Linked DNA regions of Homo sapiens: all the other regions are linked to region 1. Evidence: promoter capture Hi-C in 16 types of primary human blood cells and fetal thymus (Javierre and others, 2016). All regions are on one chromosome and are shown on one strand. The core of a region is centred on a gene start or on the middle of the fragment in contact, and the rest is flanking DNA. Distances in the headings are between cores, read along the strand shown.

What was found. The method cuts DNA at HindIII sites, captures the fragments that hold promoters and counts their contacts. A CHiCAGO score of 5 or more calls a contact.
Region 2: the fragment with the promoter of MCCC2 here is called in contact with the fragment with the promoter of BTF3 in region 1 in 4 of 17 cell types (fetal thymus, total CD4 T cells, naive B cells and 1 more); the score reaches 11.3 in fetal thymus.
Region 3: a contact is called between a fragment that was not itself captured here and the fragment with the promoter of BTF3 in region 1, in 3 of 17 cell types (total B cells, fetal thymus and naive CD4 T cells). The highest score is 5.6, in total B cells.
Region 4: a fragment that was not itself captured here is called in contact with the fragment with the promoter of BTF3 in region 1 in 2 of 17 cell types (total B cells and fetal thymus); the score reaches 6.5 in total B cells.
Region 5: a contact is called between a fragment that was not itself captured here and the fragment with the promoter of BTF3 in region 1, in 3 of 17 cell types (naive CD4 T cells, total CD4 T cells and total B cells). The highest score is 6.7, in naive CD4 T cells.

The regions. Positions count from the first base shown.
Region 1 is chr5:73,497,113-73,499,765 of GRCh38, reverse strand. It overlaps BTF3 (basic transcription factor 3), which reads right to left and starts at 1,324. Exons shown (of 6, transcript NM_001037637.2): 1 at 967-1,324; 2 at 564-632. The coding sequence starts at 1,098. BTF3-DT (BTF3 divergent transcript) reads left to right here and starts at 1,446. Exons shown (of 1, transcript NR_186388.1): 1 at 1,446-2,213. RefSeq lists a silencer at 840-889 and enhancers at 526-1,336, 1,100-1,399, 1,430-1,489. The HindIII fragment of the contact is 2,385 bases long and covers 1-2,153 here.
Region 2 is chr5:71,585,994-71,588,646 of GRCh38, reverse strand. MCCC2 (methylcrotonyl-CoA carboxylase subunit 2) reads right to left here and starts at 1,307. Exons shown (of 17, transcript NM_022132.5): 1 at 1,093-1,307. The coding sequence starts at 1,221. RefSeq lists an enhancer at 862-1,648. The HindIII fragment of the contact is 6,273 bases long and covers 10-2,653 here.
Region 3 is chr5:74,866,283-74,868,935 of GRCh38, reverse strand. FAM169A-AS1 (FAM169A antisense RNA 1) reads right to left here. Exons shown (of 1, transcript NR_134288.1): 1 at 1,661-2,653. FAM169A (family with sequence similarity 169 member A) reads left to right here and starts at 2,549. Exons shown (of 13, transcript NM_001376049.1): 1 at 2,549-2,653. RefSeq lists a silencer at 2,613-2,653. The HindIII fragment of the contact is 251 bases long and covers 1,173-1,423 here.
Region 4 is chr5:74,772,705-74,775,357 of GRCh38, reverse strand. It overlaps NSA2 (NSA2 ribosome biogenesis factor), which reads right to left. Exons shown (of 6, transcript NM_014886.6): 5 at 1,298-1,490. Among named protein-coding and RNA genes, the nearest start is that of NSA2, 6.8 kb to the right of the region's middle. The HindIII fragment of the contact is 2,499 bases long and covers 55-2,553 here.
Region 5 is chr5:72,302,651-72,305,303 of GRCh38, reverse strand. All of the region lies in intron 2 of MRPS27 (mitochondrial ribosomal protein S27), which reads left to right. Among named protein-coding and RNA genes, the nearest start is that of MRPS27, 16 kb to the left of the region's middle. The HindIII fragment of the contact is 2,331 bases long and covers 173-2,503 here.

The DNA.
Region 1 (2,653 bases), core at 75-2,574:
CTTTAATTCCCTCATTTTTACAGTAATACAAAGTCAGAACAGGAAAGATACCTACTTGGGTTATATTTTCAAATCTAATAGTCACTGCTCTTAAACTCCAAAATGTACCCGTATCTTCAAATACCCTTGAAATATGCAACTACCCTAAAGAATATTTAGTTCAGAAAGCAGTACAGAAAGGTCTCAATTTACAAGAGAGACAAACAAGCACTGACTTTAGAAAACTCAGGCCAAAACAAGTCAAGGGTATGATGTGCACAACGATCTAACTGAAATGACACATTTTCCTTACTAATTAAATTAGGAAACACTTTTGTGTTCTACTTACACTCTGTAACACTGAAAACACAAACATGTTTACACAAAGGCGATGTTTTTAGCTCGTCTCACTGATGTGTCTCCAACCCTCGTCTCCCCCGCTCCTCGAGATTTGCTAGCTCCGTGAATTTCCCTCGATAGGCAAAGTTTGTCACCGATAATATAAGAAGCGCAAAAGGAATATGTTTTTTAAAATACCTAAACCTTAAAAAAAAAACCCACAAACCCGAACTATTAAAACTTACTTTCCCACCAATGCGCACTTGTGCCTGCAGTTTGGCGAGTTTTTCCTGGTTCATGATTGTTTCTTTCATCTAGAAAAAGAGGAAATCCTCAGCAAGGATAGGTTTAGCTCACTCTAGCATTCCATGCTCGTTATTTCCCAAGATACCAGCAGGAAAATAAACGTCCTACACAGGCCGAAACCTGGATCCCAAATCCACCCCGCAAAGCTCCAAATTTGGGTTTCCAGGGAGCCCAAAGAGCACCCGCCTCCCCACCACTCCCCCACAGCTCCCCGCTCTTGGCAGGCCCGGATGAAAGGCTCTACCCCACGCCTGGCCAGCACCCCCCACCCCTGGCCCTGGCCTGGCCTCGGCCTAGCCAGGGCCTGCCCGGCCCGGCCACTCTCCGCAAGCCTCGCGGTACCTGAGGCTCCTGTCCTCGGGTTCCGCCGCGAGGTGGAGGTTGAGACAGCGTCGCCTCGCCCCCAGGGCAGCCGCCCCTGGCTCGACCTCGCCCCCGAGAGTCAGCCTGAGCGGGTGCGCCTGTCCGTCGCATCGCCTTCCTCTCCTCCTCTGCCCTGTCCCTCCCTGTCTCGCTCCTTCAGGGAACTTCCCGCCCCCGCTCCCGTCCTCCTACCACGCCGCCGTCCAGAGCCTTTTTGTACCTTGTCGGAGCGAATAAGGGGCCGCGCGGGGGACTAGGGTTGGTGCTCAAGGGGTCTCGGGTGGACCACCTGAGATTAGGCGCACACACGCGGGGACGCAAGATGGCAGCTAAAGGGAGGCCGGAAGTGACACAAGGCCACTTCCTTCAAGAGTCAGGAAACTGACTTCGCCGCGAACTCGGTTCCTCCCTGCGCACGCGCGACAGCGTTTGTGATGGTCCAGCGAGTCCCTATTCTCCTCCTCCTGCTCCAGCGGCTGCCGGCTGTAGGCCCTACGAGAGACTGCTGGCTTGGGGCGCAGCCCGTACCTCTGGGAGAGGCCACAAAGGGGTCGGAGAGCGCGGTCCTGTGCACAGTTAGGGTTAAGTCCGCTCAGTCTCCATTGGGCCCTGATCCTGAAGTTCTGTGCCCTCCGAAGAAAGGGCCTATTCACGTTTCCTGGAGACGCCGGAGGTGCCCAGCTTGTGCTCACCACTCAAGCAGCTCTCCCCTTGCTGGAGGTGTGGGTTGGAGAATTGCAGAATTTCCCTCTCGGCCCGAATGAGCCATTACCAAAGCATTTTGTCAAAAATAGTGAAGTTAGTTTGGCCTTCCAAGGTTAGGTGGTGTGGTAGATTGCGGGACCGAGGTTCAGAATTTCTGGGGGCTGTATCCCCGAGCCCCACTCCTCAGAATGCAACTCTGTACGACGAAGGAACTGGGTAATCCGCATTTCAGCCAATTTAGCAGATGACTAACCACCTTAAAACGGTCCACACAATTATCTTGTTTATCAGGCAAAAAAATTGACTCCTAGGTACCGAATTGGCATGGATTTGACAATTAGCGATTCACGGTTAAGCAGACTTTATCTATCTTAATCCAATCAAAGGAGAATTTCTGCCTGCTGTGTTTGGAGAGACAACGCGTGGATGTGAGTTAAACTTTGTTAAACCCAGGACAAGCTTTAAGATAAAACGACTGATATTTAAAATGGCAATTTAAATAAAAATGTTCTCTGATCAGCCTTTTTGTGGTCTTAACCATGAAATGTCTTTGCATATTCAAAAGTGAGTCCGAAATCTTAGAATGCAATGTGTGTAGCAAGAAAACTTGTTCAAGTGCAGACCCCTCTCCAGTTAAGATCAATGTTTAAACTTTTTGAATACTTTTTACATATAAGTTTGTTGCAACTGATGTCTCAAGAACATAACTGGTGAGGACAGCTGTATTGCCTTTTAGAATAATTGTTACAGTTATATTTACAAAAAACAATGTTGCTTCAGTTAAATATGAGTGAAGTTTTAGTACAGGTAAGGGTGTTTGTAGTTAGGCTTATGTGGGTTACCTTCCTAATGACAAAGGCCAAAATGGCAGTACCAACATTATGCTGTGCTCTGGAGATATTACAAAATATATAGAAAGACTCCCCCTTTTGGAAGAAATGTGTATCTTTGTCCAGGAACA
Region 2 (2,653 bases), core at 58-2,557, 1.9 Mb after region 1:
TCTCAAGCTTTAGACAACCCTTCTTACACTGTACCACAGTTACCTGCTTTCTTGTCCATCTTCCCTACAAAATTATTAGTTCCATTCCTACGCATCCATGCCAAATATCTAAAATAGTGCCTAGACCACAATAACCACTTAATAATTCTGAATTAAACATTCTGGACTGACAAACAATTGTGTGTTGTTTGCACTATTTAGATGTTATCTGTATAGGCTTAGAAATCGTGGGAACACAGTGAAATTTTCCAGCTCTGATATTTCGCAAGTTTTGAGTTTTTTGGCCTTATGATGCCTCCTAATTCCAAGAAAAGCCACTCAAAGATACTGTGGGATATTTTCTATTAACATAACCAACTTTTTTTTTTTTTTTTTTTTGAGACAGAGTTCGCTCTTGTTGCCAAGGCTGGAGTGCAATGGCACGATCTCAGCTCACTGCAACCTCCGCCTCCCAAGTTCAAGCGATTCCCCTGCCTCAGCCTCCCAGGTAGCTGGGATTACAGGCGCGCGCCACCATGCCCGGCTAATTTTTGTATTCTTAGTAGAGATGGGGTTTCACCACGTTGGCCAGGCTGTTCTCGAACTCCTGATCTCAGGTAATCCACCCGCCAGGGCCTCCCAAAGCGCTGGGATTACAGGCGTGAGCCACTGGGCTCGGCCATCATAATCAACTTTTAAACTCAAATTTCCTAAGCACAGCGCCCCTCGTTGGGCTGCTCTAGGCCAGTGGTTCCCAAAGCTGGCTGCCAAAAGTCCCCTAATGAGTTCACTAACAATATAAACACAGCGACTCCACCTGAGACCCACAAGGTCCAGAGTAGGGCTCAGGCAGCTATTCAGCTAGCTCCCCAGGTGGCAATTCTAAACCAGGCTTTAAGAACCACTGATTTCAAAGACACAAAGTACAGTGCCAGCTCTAAAAGTGAACTAAACTTTCTTGTATCTGTTAGGCTTTTCTTCTTCAAACTTCACGTGCGTCACAGAATCAACTGGGGCTCCGGACAAGAGAGCAGCAGTTGTTGAAGCGTGCCCCTCCTCCACTTGCTTCCTAGCCTGGCACCGGCGGCCAGGCCACCGGGGCGCTCAGCCTACCTGGTAGAGGGCAGAGCCCAAGTCCGGCTGGGTGCCCAGCGAGGCCACCGAGTCCCCGTGATAGGCGCGCGGCCCGGCGGGAGAGGCGCGGGCACACGGCCGCAGGGCTAACCTCAGGACGGCCCACATGGCGGCGGGCACCGAGCGAGAGAGCGGCCCACGCTGGCCTGGAGCCGGTGCTTTCCCCTGCCGCTTCCCTGGCTGGGGCGGAAGCTGAGCTCAGGTCCTTGCAGCCCCAGAGAAGGTTTCTCTGATTCTCAGGCCTGTCCACACACGTGCCTAAGCGCGCCGCCCGCGATTGGTCAAGCCGCGCCACGCCCCCTGACCCAGCCAATAAGGGACAGAGCCTCAGCCCCGCGAGGTCGCGTCTAGTCCCGAGCGCAGGAGAGCAGGTCTCCCCGGCGGATCGACCCTCACGAAGCGGTGCGGCAGTGAGAGAGCTGCGGTTGGGCTTGGATTGGTGTTGTGTTGACACAGCGATAGATAATATCACGATAGTGACTGTACCTAAGGCAGGAGAATAAGTCTGGAAGCAGGGAACCTAAGGCTGTCTCACGCTGACTTCCTAGAGCTAAACTGAAAGGAAAACCCTAACTTTCCATGCCTAAGTAACAAAAGGACCAAAGGCTACTCCCTTTGCAAACCCCCCCACCTTTTCCGCAGGGCAGATAGGAAATTGGCTGTCCCCGACAAATCAGACTTACTGCTGGTGGAGGCTTGCTTTGCCAAGTTTGAACCTTAACTCCAGCCTCTGAATGGTTGCTGTCCACAACCAATCAGACTGATTGGGGGTCCAGTCTTCGTTTGCATAGAAGTATAACTTTGTAATTTCACCCTAGCCTCTGACTGCTTGCTTCTTGCAACCAATCGGGTTTGAGGTGAGCATAAAATGGCCAATAGGAAACTTCTAGTGGGTATTTGGACCCAAGAAGATTCTATATCCGGGCCCTTGAGCTCTGCTCGGTCCGCTCCCACATTGTGGAGTGCACTTTCGTTTTCGGTAAATCCCTGCTTTCGTTCTTTCGTTGCCTTGTTCTTTCTTTGCTTTGCTGGGCGTTTTGTCCAATTCTTTGTTCACAATGCCAAGAACCTGGACAACTTGCAGTCACAACCCCCAGTGACACACCAACAACATGAGTGAATCGCATCTAACACGTGCTTGCGAACAGCACAACAAGCCTGTTGTCCTTTCACTGGAGACCTTAAACATTCTTCTGATTATTTTCGCTATGTAGTTATTTTTATTTTTTACTTTATTTCATTTTTTGAGACAGGGCCTCACTCTGTCGCCCAGGCTGCAATGCAGTGGCACGATCACAGCTCGCTGAATCCTTGACCTCCCACCTCAGCCTTTCCAGTAGCTGAGACTACAGGTTTGTGCCACCAAGCCCGGCTAATTTTTTATTTTTGTAGGGGTTTCACCATGTTGGCTATGCTGGTCTTGAACTCCTGGACTCAAGCGATCTGCCCGCCACAGCCTCCCAAAGTGCTGGGATTACAGACATGAGCCACCACACCAGGCACTATGTAGTGACAGATTGTGGACATCAGCACTGTGGTC
Region 3 (2,653 bases), core at 49-2,548, 1.4 Mb before region 1:
AGTTTCTCTGTGTGCCTCAAGACTCCTCTTAGGTAAACTGGGGGTAACAGTGTATACCTGCAAGGATGGTAAGAGGATTAAGTGAATTAATTTCCATAAAGAAGTCTGTAGAGTGCCTGGCAATTTGTTAGCTGTCAAAAACATCAGTTATGATTTTAGCTATTAAGAATTCCTCTTCCCCAGTGCAACTAAAGAGCTCTTTTCTGGGTCATGTGTATTAGTAACCTCCAAAATCCAGGGTTGTGGCAAGCTTCTTTTACTTAAGATGGTTCCACTCCTCTTTAAACATAGAGGAAAAATACAATCAGAACGAACTCTTAACATGTTTCCTTTGCTAATAACAAAGTAATAATTAAAGCAAGCATTGCAAAAACAAAAACCAAAGCAATAATCCTTTTACTCTAAAAACGGTTCAGAAAAAAGCCTCAAAGCATATTTCAAAATATTGTGGTAACAATTTTCAGCATATACTAATCTGACAAAGGCTCATGTTTTTAGTTGTTGTTCTTTGCCCACTAAGATAAGCAAAATTTATCTCAGCCAAAGAGGGAAGTCAATGGTGATTTAAAAAGAAAAAACCAAAAACTCTCAAAAATAGTGTCATTTGCAAGTAGGGAAAAGAGAATCAGGCCTGGCGCAGTGGCTCACGCCTGTAATCCCAGCACTTTGGGAGGCCGAGGCGGGCGGATCGCTTGAGCTCAGAAGTTCAGGACCAGCCTGGGCAGCATGGCGAAACTCCGTCTCTACAAAAATTAGCGAGGTGCGTTGGTGTGCACCTCTGTCCCAGCTCTTCCGGAGGCTGACGCCGGAGAATCGCTTGAGCTTGGGAGGCAGAGGTTGCAGTGAGTCGAGATCGCGCCATTGCATTCCAGCCTGCCTAGGCTGTGGGAGTGAAACCCTGTCTCAAAAAAAAAAAAAAAAAAAAAAAAAAAAATTGGACCTTTTCTTTTATAGGTCTGGGTGAATGTAGTTCTGTCTCCTACCAGAATAGCCAGACATCTGGGAGCCAGGCCTCCCTGACCCAGGCACAAATACCCGCATACTTCTAAAACAATAGCTAAGAGTCAATCACACCCAGGCATTTCAAATATTATCAACAAGTTGTATTGGTTAGCTTTACACTAAGGCCTGAGGCTTCAACATCTGTAGGGCATAGTCTGGTAGCCAAAGCTTCCCCAAATGGCAATTGTTTGGGATTACCCTGGGGACTCCTACTTACACATAGCTCTAGAAATGTAAATACAAGTCATATAATTTCATTCATCACTGGCTATGGGTAGAACCCAACTACCCAAAATTCCTGCTCTATTAAATCTAATTCATTAAGTTTCATTAAAATGGTAAATGATGTGTAATAGTAAAGATTTTGGCTAATTAAATATTATACAAATGAAACAATAGATTCTTATATGGCAGAAAAGCTTTTTTTAAAAATCAGGGTCAAATATATCTATATCAACAAGCATTCTTTGAAGTATTTTTTGATCTTGCTAATTTTGCTAATCATTAGTAAATTCGTGAAAGTTGGTATTGTGATTGCTAAATATTTCCCAGGAATGAAAGAAGCAATTTTCAACTTTTCTGGATGAGCTGAACATAATACTACGGTTCTTGGATGATGAGTAAAAGAAAGTCTTGACATTAATACTTAGATACAATATTGTTTCTCAATACAGTTATTAAATATATTTAGACTACAATACGCATTACCTTAAAGACAATTTATCATGTTTTAAATGCTGGAGGGCTAATTTTCAGTAGGAGTGTGTAATTAGCAAAGGCGCCAGAGGCCATAAGACGGTAGAATAGAGCTGGGAGAGGCACGGGAGGAAAGCCGGATGGAACCCTGTTGTCTTTCTGGGTCAGGGTTATTCTGTACCGGTTAAACGGTGAAAGAGAAAAGGTCAGCGCAGGAATGTGGTATTTCCCTGACATCTCCAGATGAAAGTCCGGGCTCTAGGACTTCTGTAGACTGTGAAAGCAGCCCACGATTCTAACTTGCATGCACCTAAGTGGCAGTAGGTTTAGGATGAAAGTGGTGGGGCGGAGGCCGGCGGTCCTCGCCCGTGCCCTCTGCACCCCTGTCCCGAGGCCGGGATGGCCGCGCCCACTCTGGGTAAATTTCAGGAGGGCCTACGCGGGGCTGGAGAACTCCACCGGGCTATGCGAACAGAATCCTGCGAAGGTCGGCATTAAAGGAATACGCAAAATCAGCGTTGCAGCCCCCGCGGCTTAACCGCATCTATTTTTATATCTAAGCCAAGGTCACTCTTTAATACCAGGCCATTGCCCTGAGCTGGGCGTCGCGCTGCCGGGTGACGGCGGCCGGGGCGGAGAGAGGGGGCGCGGGTGGCGAGGCGGGGGCCGCGTGACGCCCCCGGGCTGGCCAAGCCCGCACCTGCCGGGCCGGCGCCTGAAAGCCGGGGCTGGAGGGAGGCAGGGCGGCGTCCCAGGCTCCGAGGAGGGGCCGCTCCGCGCTGGCGGGCGGGGGGATTCGCGGTGGGCGCGGGCGCGGAGCGGAAGCGAAGGCTGGAGGCGCTGCGGCGCTAGTGCGTCACGTCGTCGGAGGGCACGGTGGGCCGCGGCCGACCCGCGACGAGGAGCCGGGCGTCCGGGGCGAGCGGGAGGCAGCCGCACTCGCCCTGGCAGCCGC
Region 4 (2,653 bases), core at 55-2,554, 1.3 Mb before region 1:
AGGTGTCAGCCACTGCGCCCAGATAGCGAGGGGGCTTTTTAAAGCCTGGAAGCTTCTACATGATTTCTGAGACCTGTTAATGGGAATTAACAGAACGAACTAAACTGTGTTAAATCACTTTCAATTATTATTATTACTTTTTGAGACAGAGTCTCGCTCTGTCATCCAGGCTGGAGTGCAATGGCACGATCTCAGCTCACTGCAAGCTCCACCTCCCAGGTTCAAGCGATTCTCCTGCCTCAGCCACCGGAGCAGCTGGGATTACAGGTGTGGGCCACAACACCTGGCTAATTTGTGTATTTTTAGTAGAGATGGGGTTTCACCATGTTGGCCAGGCTGGTCTTGAACTCCTGACTGCAGATGATCTGTCCGCCTCAGCCTCCCAAAGTGCTGGGATTACAGGCTGAGCCACCGCTCCTGGCAGTTTCAATGATCAGTTTACCTACGTGGGACAGATAGTTCTATTTCTTTAAATGTAATAGGTATTTTCTCTTAATGTTAGCATGTAAATATAAGAAGTATTTACATAATATAAAGTTGTGGCAAAAGAAATTTTTTCTTACGGAAGACATCTTTAGTCATTGGCTAATACTTCATGTAAGCTGACCTCACTTTTAAAATATGTTTGATATATGCCTCCCTTCCTCTGCTCATGGTTAATTTATTCTATTTTCTTATAATATTTCTTAGTTATAACTTTGCATCTGCTTCCCTTATAATAATTTTTATTAAAAAGGTTAAAAAAATTTTTTTTGAGATGGAGATTTGCTCTGTCTCCCAGTCTGGAGTGCAGTGGCACAATCTCAGCTCACTGCAAGCTCCGCCTCCTGAGTTCAAGTGATTCTCCTGCCTCAGCCTCCCAAGTGGCTGGGATTAGAGGTGCTCGCCACCACACCCGGCTGATTTTTTTGTATTTTTAGTAGAGGTGGGGTTTTGCCATGTTGGCCAGGCTGGTCTCAAACTCCTGACTTCAGGTGATCCACCCGCCTCAGCCTCCCAAAGTGCTGGGATTTACATGCGTGAGCTGCTGTGCCTGGCTAAAAAGGATAAAAATAAATCTAGCAGAATGTATTACACCTTATGTAACTAAAACCAGTAAGCTAAATTTTAAAACAATTGTATTTATAACAACTTTTTCTATAAAGTATTTTTTACTAAATATTTACATCTGATTTACAGTGTTTTAGCTCTACTGCATTAAAAAAATTTGCTGTATATTTTATTAATACATCAACTTGAATAGTATTTCTATTAGTACTGCAGAACACAGCAGCCCTGTATTCAAAAATTCACTTACCCCAAATAACTTTGCCTCCTTGTGTCACAAGGCCCAATTCGCTCACATTTACTTCAATGACAGTACCTTTGGTAATAACACCCAAAGTTGTATACAGTGGGGATGAGGGATTCTTCTTTACACCAAGTATTGGTAGGCAAAAGGTGGCTTTCAGTTCAGGATGTGTTACATGGGCTTTCTTGAAACGCAAGCCCTAGTAAGTCAAACACAACATAAGAATGTTTACGTCCAAAATGTTAACAGTGATGAGTAGTGGTCGTTTTCGCTTATCTTTTTCAACCATCTCCAAAAAACTATGGTTGAATAATGTCATCTTAAAGAAGCTAACAAAATATGTTTTACAGAGTAAAAAGCTGATGGTTACAGTATAAATATGTGGGGAAAACACCCACACAAATACTTAAGAATTTCTTTTTCTTTTGAGACAGGGTCTTGCCCAGTTGCCCACGCCAGAGTGCAGTGGCGTGATCTTGGCTCACTGCAGCTTGGACTTCTTGGGCTCAAGACATCCTCCCACCTCAGGCTCCTGAGTAGCTGGGACTACAGGCACGCACCACCATGCCTAGCTTATTTTTTTTTTTTTTTTTTTTGGTAGAGATGGGGTTTCGCCATGTTGCCTGCTGGTCTTGGACTCCTGGGCTCTCAACGTATCCACCCACCTCAGCCTCCCAAAGTGCTGGGATTACAGGCCACCACAGCTAGCCTCTGAAAAGTTTTTTTTTTTTTCACCCTGTAATAGCTACCTAGCAACATACCCAGATTTTTACTGTCTAGTCATCTACACTTAGACTTACTAAGGACTTTATATATACCAGGCCACTATGCTAGCTCACAACTGGCTCACTTAAACACAATAACCTCACAACAAACACATCCCCTCTCCTCTGTTTTCAAATGATGTAACAAGGATCAGCAGGTTAAATGACTTGTTTCCAGATTAAATGGTGAGTGGTAAACAGACTCAAACCTTAATATCCTGATTCCAAGTCTTTATATAACTCGGCTACCTTCCATGATGAAAAAAGGAGTGGACTGTCAGCTTTCTTTAGGTTGATGGCAATATGAGACTGGAGGAGACCCAGAGGAGTCTTTGTTACAGAAACTGGTTATGGAGTCACCCAGTCACCTAATAAGGTCTTTTAGGGTGTAGTACTTTAAACGTCACAACATTTTGCAGTCTTCATTTTTGTGTGCATGGGGATGGGGGGAAAAAATCACTAAATCAGTTTCTTAGTAACAGACTCATTAATCAAGCTTGTAAGAAACTGACACCATTCAGGATGCCATCTGATTATAATGACAAATCTGTGAAACTACAGAAAACCTAGAATAGCCTGACTTGTATATTCTCTCCCT
Region 5 (2,653 bases), core at 89-2,588, 1.2 Mb after region 1:
GTTCTGTATTTGCATCTCTGTGGCATCTATTCATTTTCCAGTTTCCATATTTGCCAAGTTCTAGAGATGGGTCTGACTTGTGCACATCACCGTTCTTTAGTCTCATTAATATATATGTACACAAAGCTTGATTTCATGTTTTTCCTTTATTGGATTTATTTATGTTAAAGCTTCTGGTGACAGACAAATAGAAGGAAGTCTAAAAATCTATGTCCAAATTGGTTGCTAGGCTAGTTTTCCATACTTCCTTCTGTATATTCAATGCATGATATATGTCATGTGTCCTCGTTTTTCTTTTAAAATGTGGGAAACAAAAACAGTTTCAGCCTGTATTTTTCAAGATCAGTTCTTCTAGGAAGGACAATAATAATCTGTACCTGTTTCTTTATTATATAAATTAGGTAAGGTATGCAGATGACCATAAGCCCAGAAAGAGTTTAGTGTTGCCTGAAAGGTTAACAGTAATGTGCAGTTATGTAGAAAAGAAAAACTGAAACCATTTCTCACCTGAAGCTAGAAGGATTCAATAAAGGATTCATATTTTTCTTCAGTGACCTTCATTATCACAACTTTGCCCCAGAGACCACACTCTTTTTTAAGAGGCTTGTTTTTCAACACATCTGTACTACAGATTTTGTGGTTATGTACTGTGAAGCTGTGTTACTTTGGTGTGCACCAGGTTAAAATTATCTTGGCAAAATGAATTTTTGGTCATTATGTAGTGACCCACATAATCTATAAAACTGCTTTTTGCCTGTAATCTATTGTGTCTGATATTAATACAACTGTACCAGCTTTATTTTGGCTTCCTAGTGTGTTTTTAATAATTTTCAACTCTTCTGTGTTTATATGATTTATATAGCTAGCTTTTATATTTTTAACCAATCTGACAATCATTATCTTTTAACTAGAAAATTTCGTCTATTTACATTATCATTTCATGATTACCAATATAATTGGATTTATTTCTGTCACATTTTGTGATTGGTTTCATCTTTCTTTTTTTTCTTTATTTTTTATTTTTGGATTGATTTTTACTTTTGGATTGTTTTTGTTTTTTACGTTTTTTTCCCCTCCACTGGTCTGGAGATTATATCCTCTACTTTTTTAGAGATTGTTGCCCTTTAACTTCTAAAATGCATATCTAGCTTAAATTGTAATGCTCATCACACTCTACTATCCTTTAGGACACCTTAGGTCCACACACACACATCTAACCATATGCTCTTGTCTAATAATAAAGTTTTATCCTTTAAAACACATATAACATTATTTTAAACAGTCAGTTCCCCCCCAATTTAACCAATTTTATTGAGTTCTAAAAATTTCCTTTAGTATTTGTTGCTAATACATTTTCTGTTTTTGTTTGTCCAAAAATGTCTTCATTTCGCCCTTATCTTTTTTTTTTTTTTTTTTTTTTTGAGATGAGGTCTTGCTGTGTTGCCCACACTGGCCTCCAACTCCTGGGCTTAAGTGATCCTCCCACCTCAGCCTCCTGAGTAGCTGGGTCTACAAGCACATGCCAGCATACCCATATTTTGCCCTTATTTTTTAAAGATAATCTTGCTAGATATGCAATTTTAGGTTGATAGTTTATACTTGCAACATTTTGAACATTTTATTCTATTTTCTGGATTTTATCATTCCTATTGAGAAAACACCTGTTAGTATAGTTGTTTCTTTCTTTGTAATTTCTCTTTTCTTTCTGGCCACTTTTGAGATCCTCTCATTCATCGTTTTTGAAATAATAATTTTACTTTTTTGACTTGAGATTGTATACATATCCTGAATCTAGAAACCTATATTTTTTATCAATTCTAAAAAATTCTCATCATTGTCTCATCATACATTCTTATTCATATTTCTATATCTTTGCTCTTTTACAGTTCTCATTTTTATCTTTGCAGCATTCTGTGTAATTATCTGCCTTTCAGTTCACTCTCACTTCACCTGTGTCTAACCTGCTTTTTAACTTATTCATTGTTTACTTTTTACAGCTTTGATGAGGTATTCTTCACATAAAATAAACTATGTATATTTAAATGTACAATTTGATCAGTTTTGACCAATGTACAGGTGTATATGTCCATAAAGTCATCTCCATGATCAAGATAATGAGCATATGTGTCACCTGCCAAAGTTTTCTCCTATTCTTTAACCCTTTTCTCCTTCCGCTTCTGGCCCTATACCCCAAATTCCCAGGCAACCATGGATATGCTTTTTTGTTTCTATAGAATAGTTCACAATTTTTAGAATTTTATATAGTGAAGTCAACTCTTCAAACAAAATTCTCAGCTTGGTATATTTTGGATCACAAAAGAAGAGTGGATTAAATCCCCAAAGAGGCATGAGGGCTGACTTGTAGTTTATAATCTTCAGGGGACAAGTGTCCCGGTTGTTTACTTTTTAGGGTGCATTATTGTAGTGATAAGTTTTACCTTTTCACTTCAGGTGTAGTTCCCTTAGGTGGTCCTGGCTTTACCTGAGGATCTCTGAACAAGCTTCTCATCTTACAAGTATTGGTTTTATCCTCTGTCCCCATAAGTCACTGAAACTAAAGCTCTCCATCACTGTAGATCATCACATGCTCTCAAAAGGACTGCTCCCCTCAAAGGGACTGCTCCTCTAAACACTCCAAGTTCATGTTTCCATC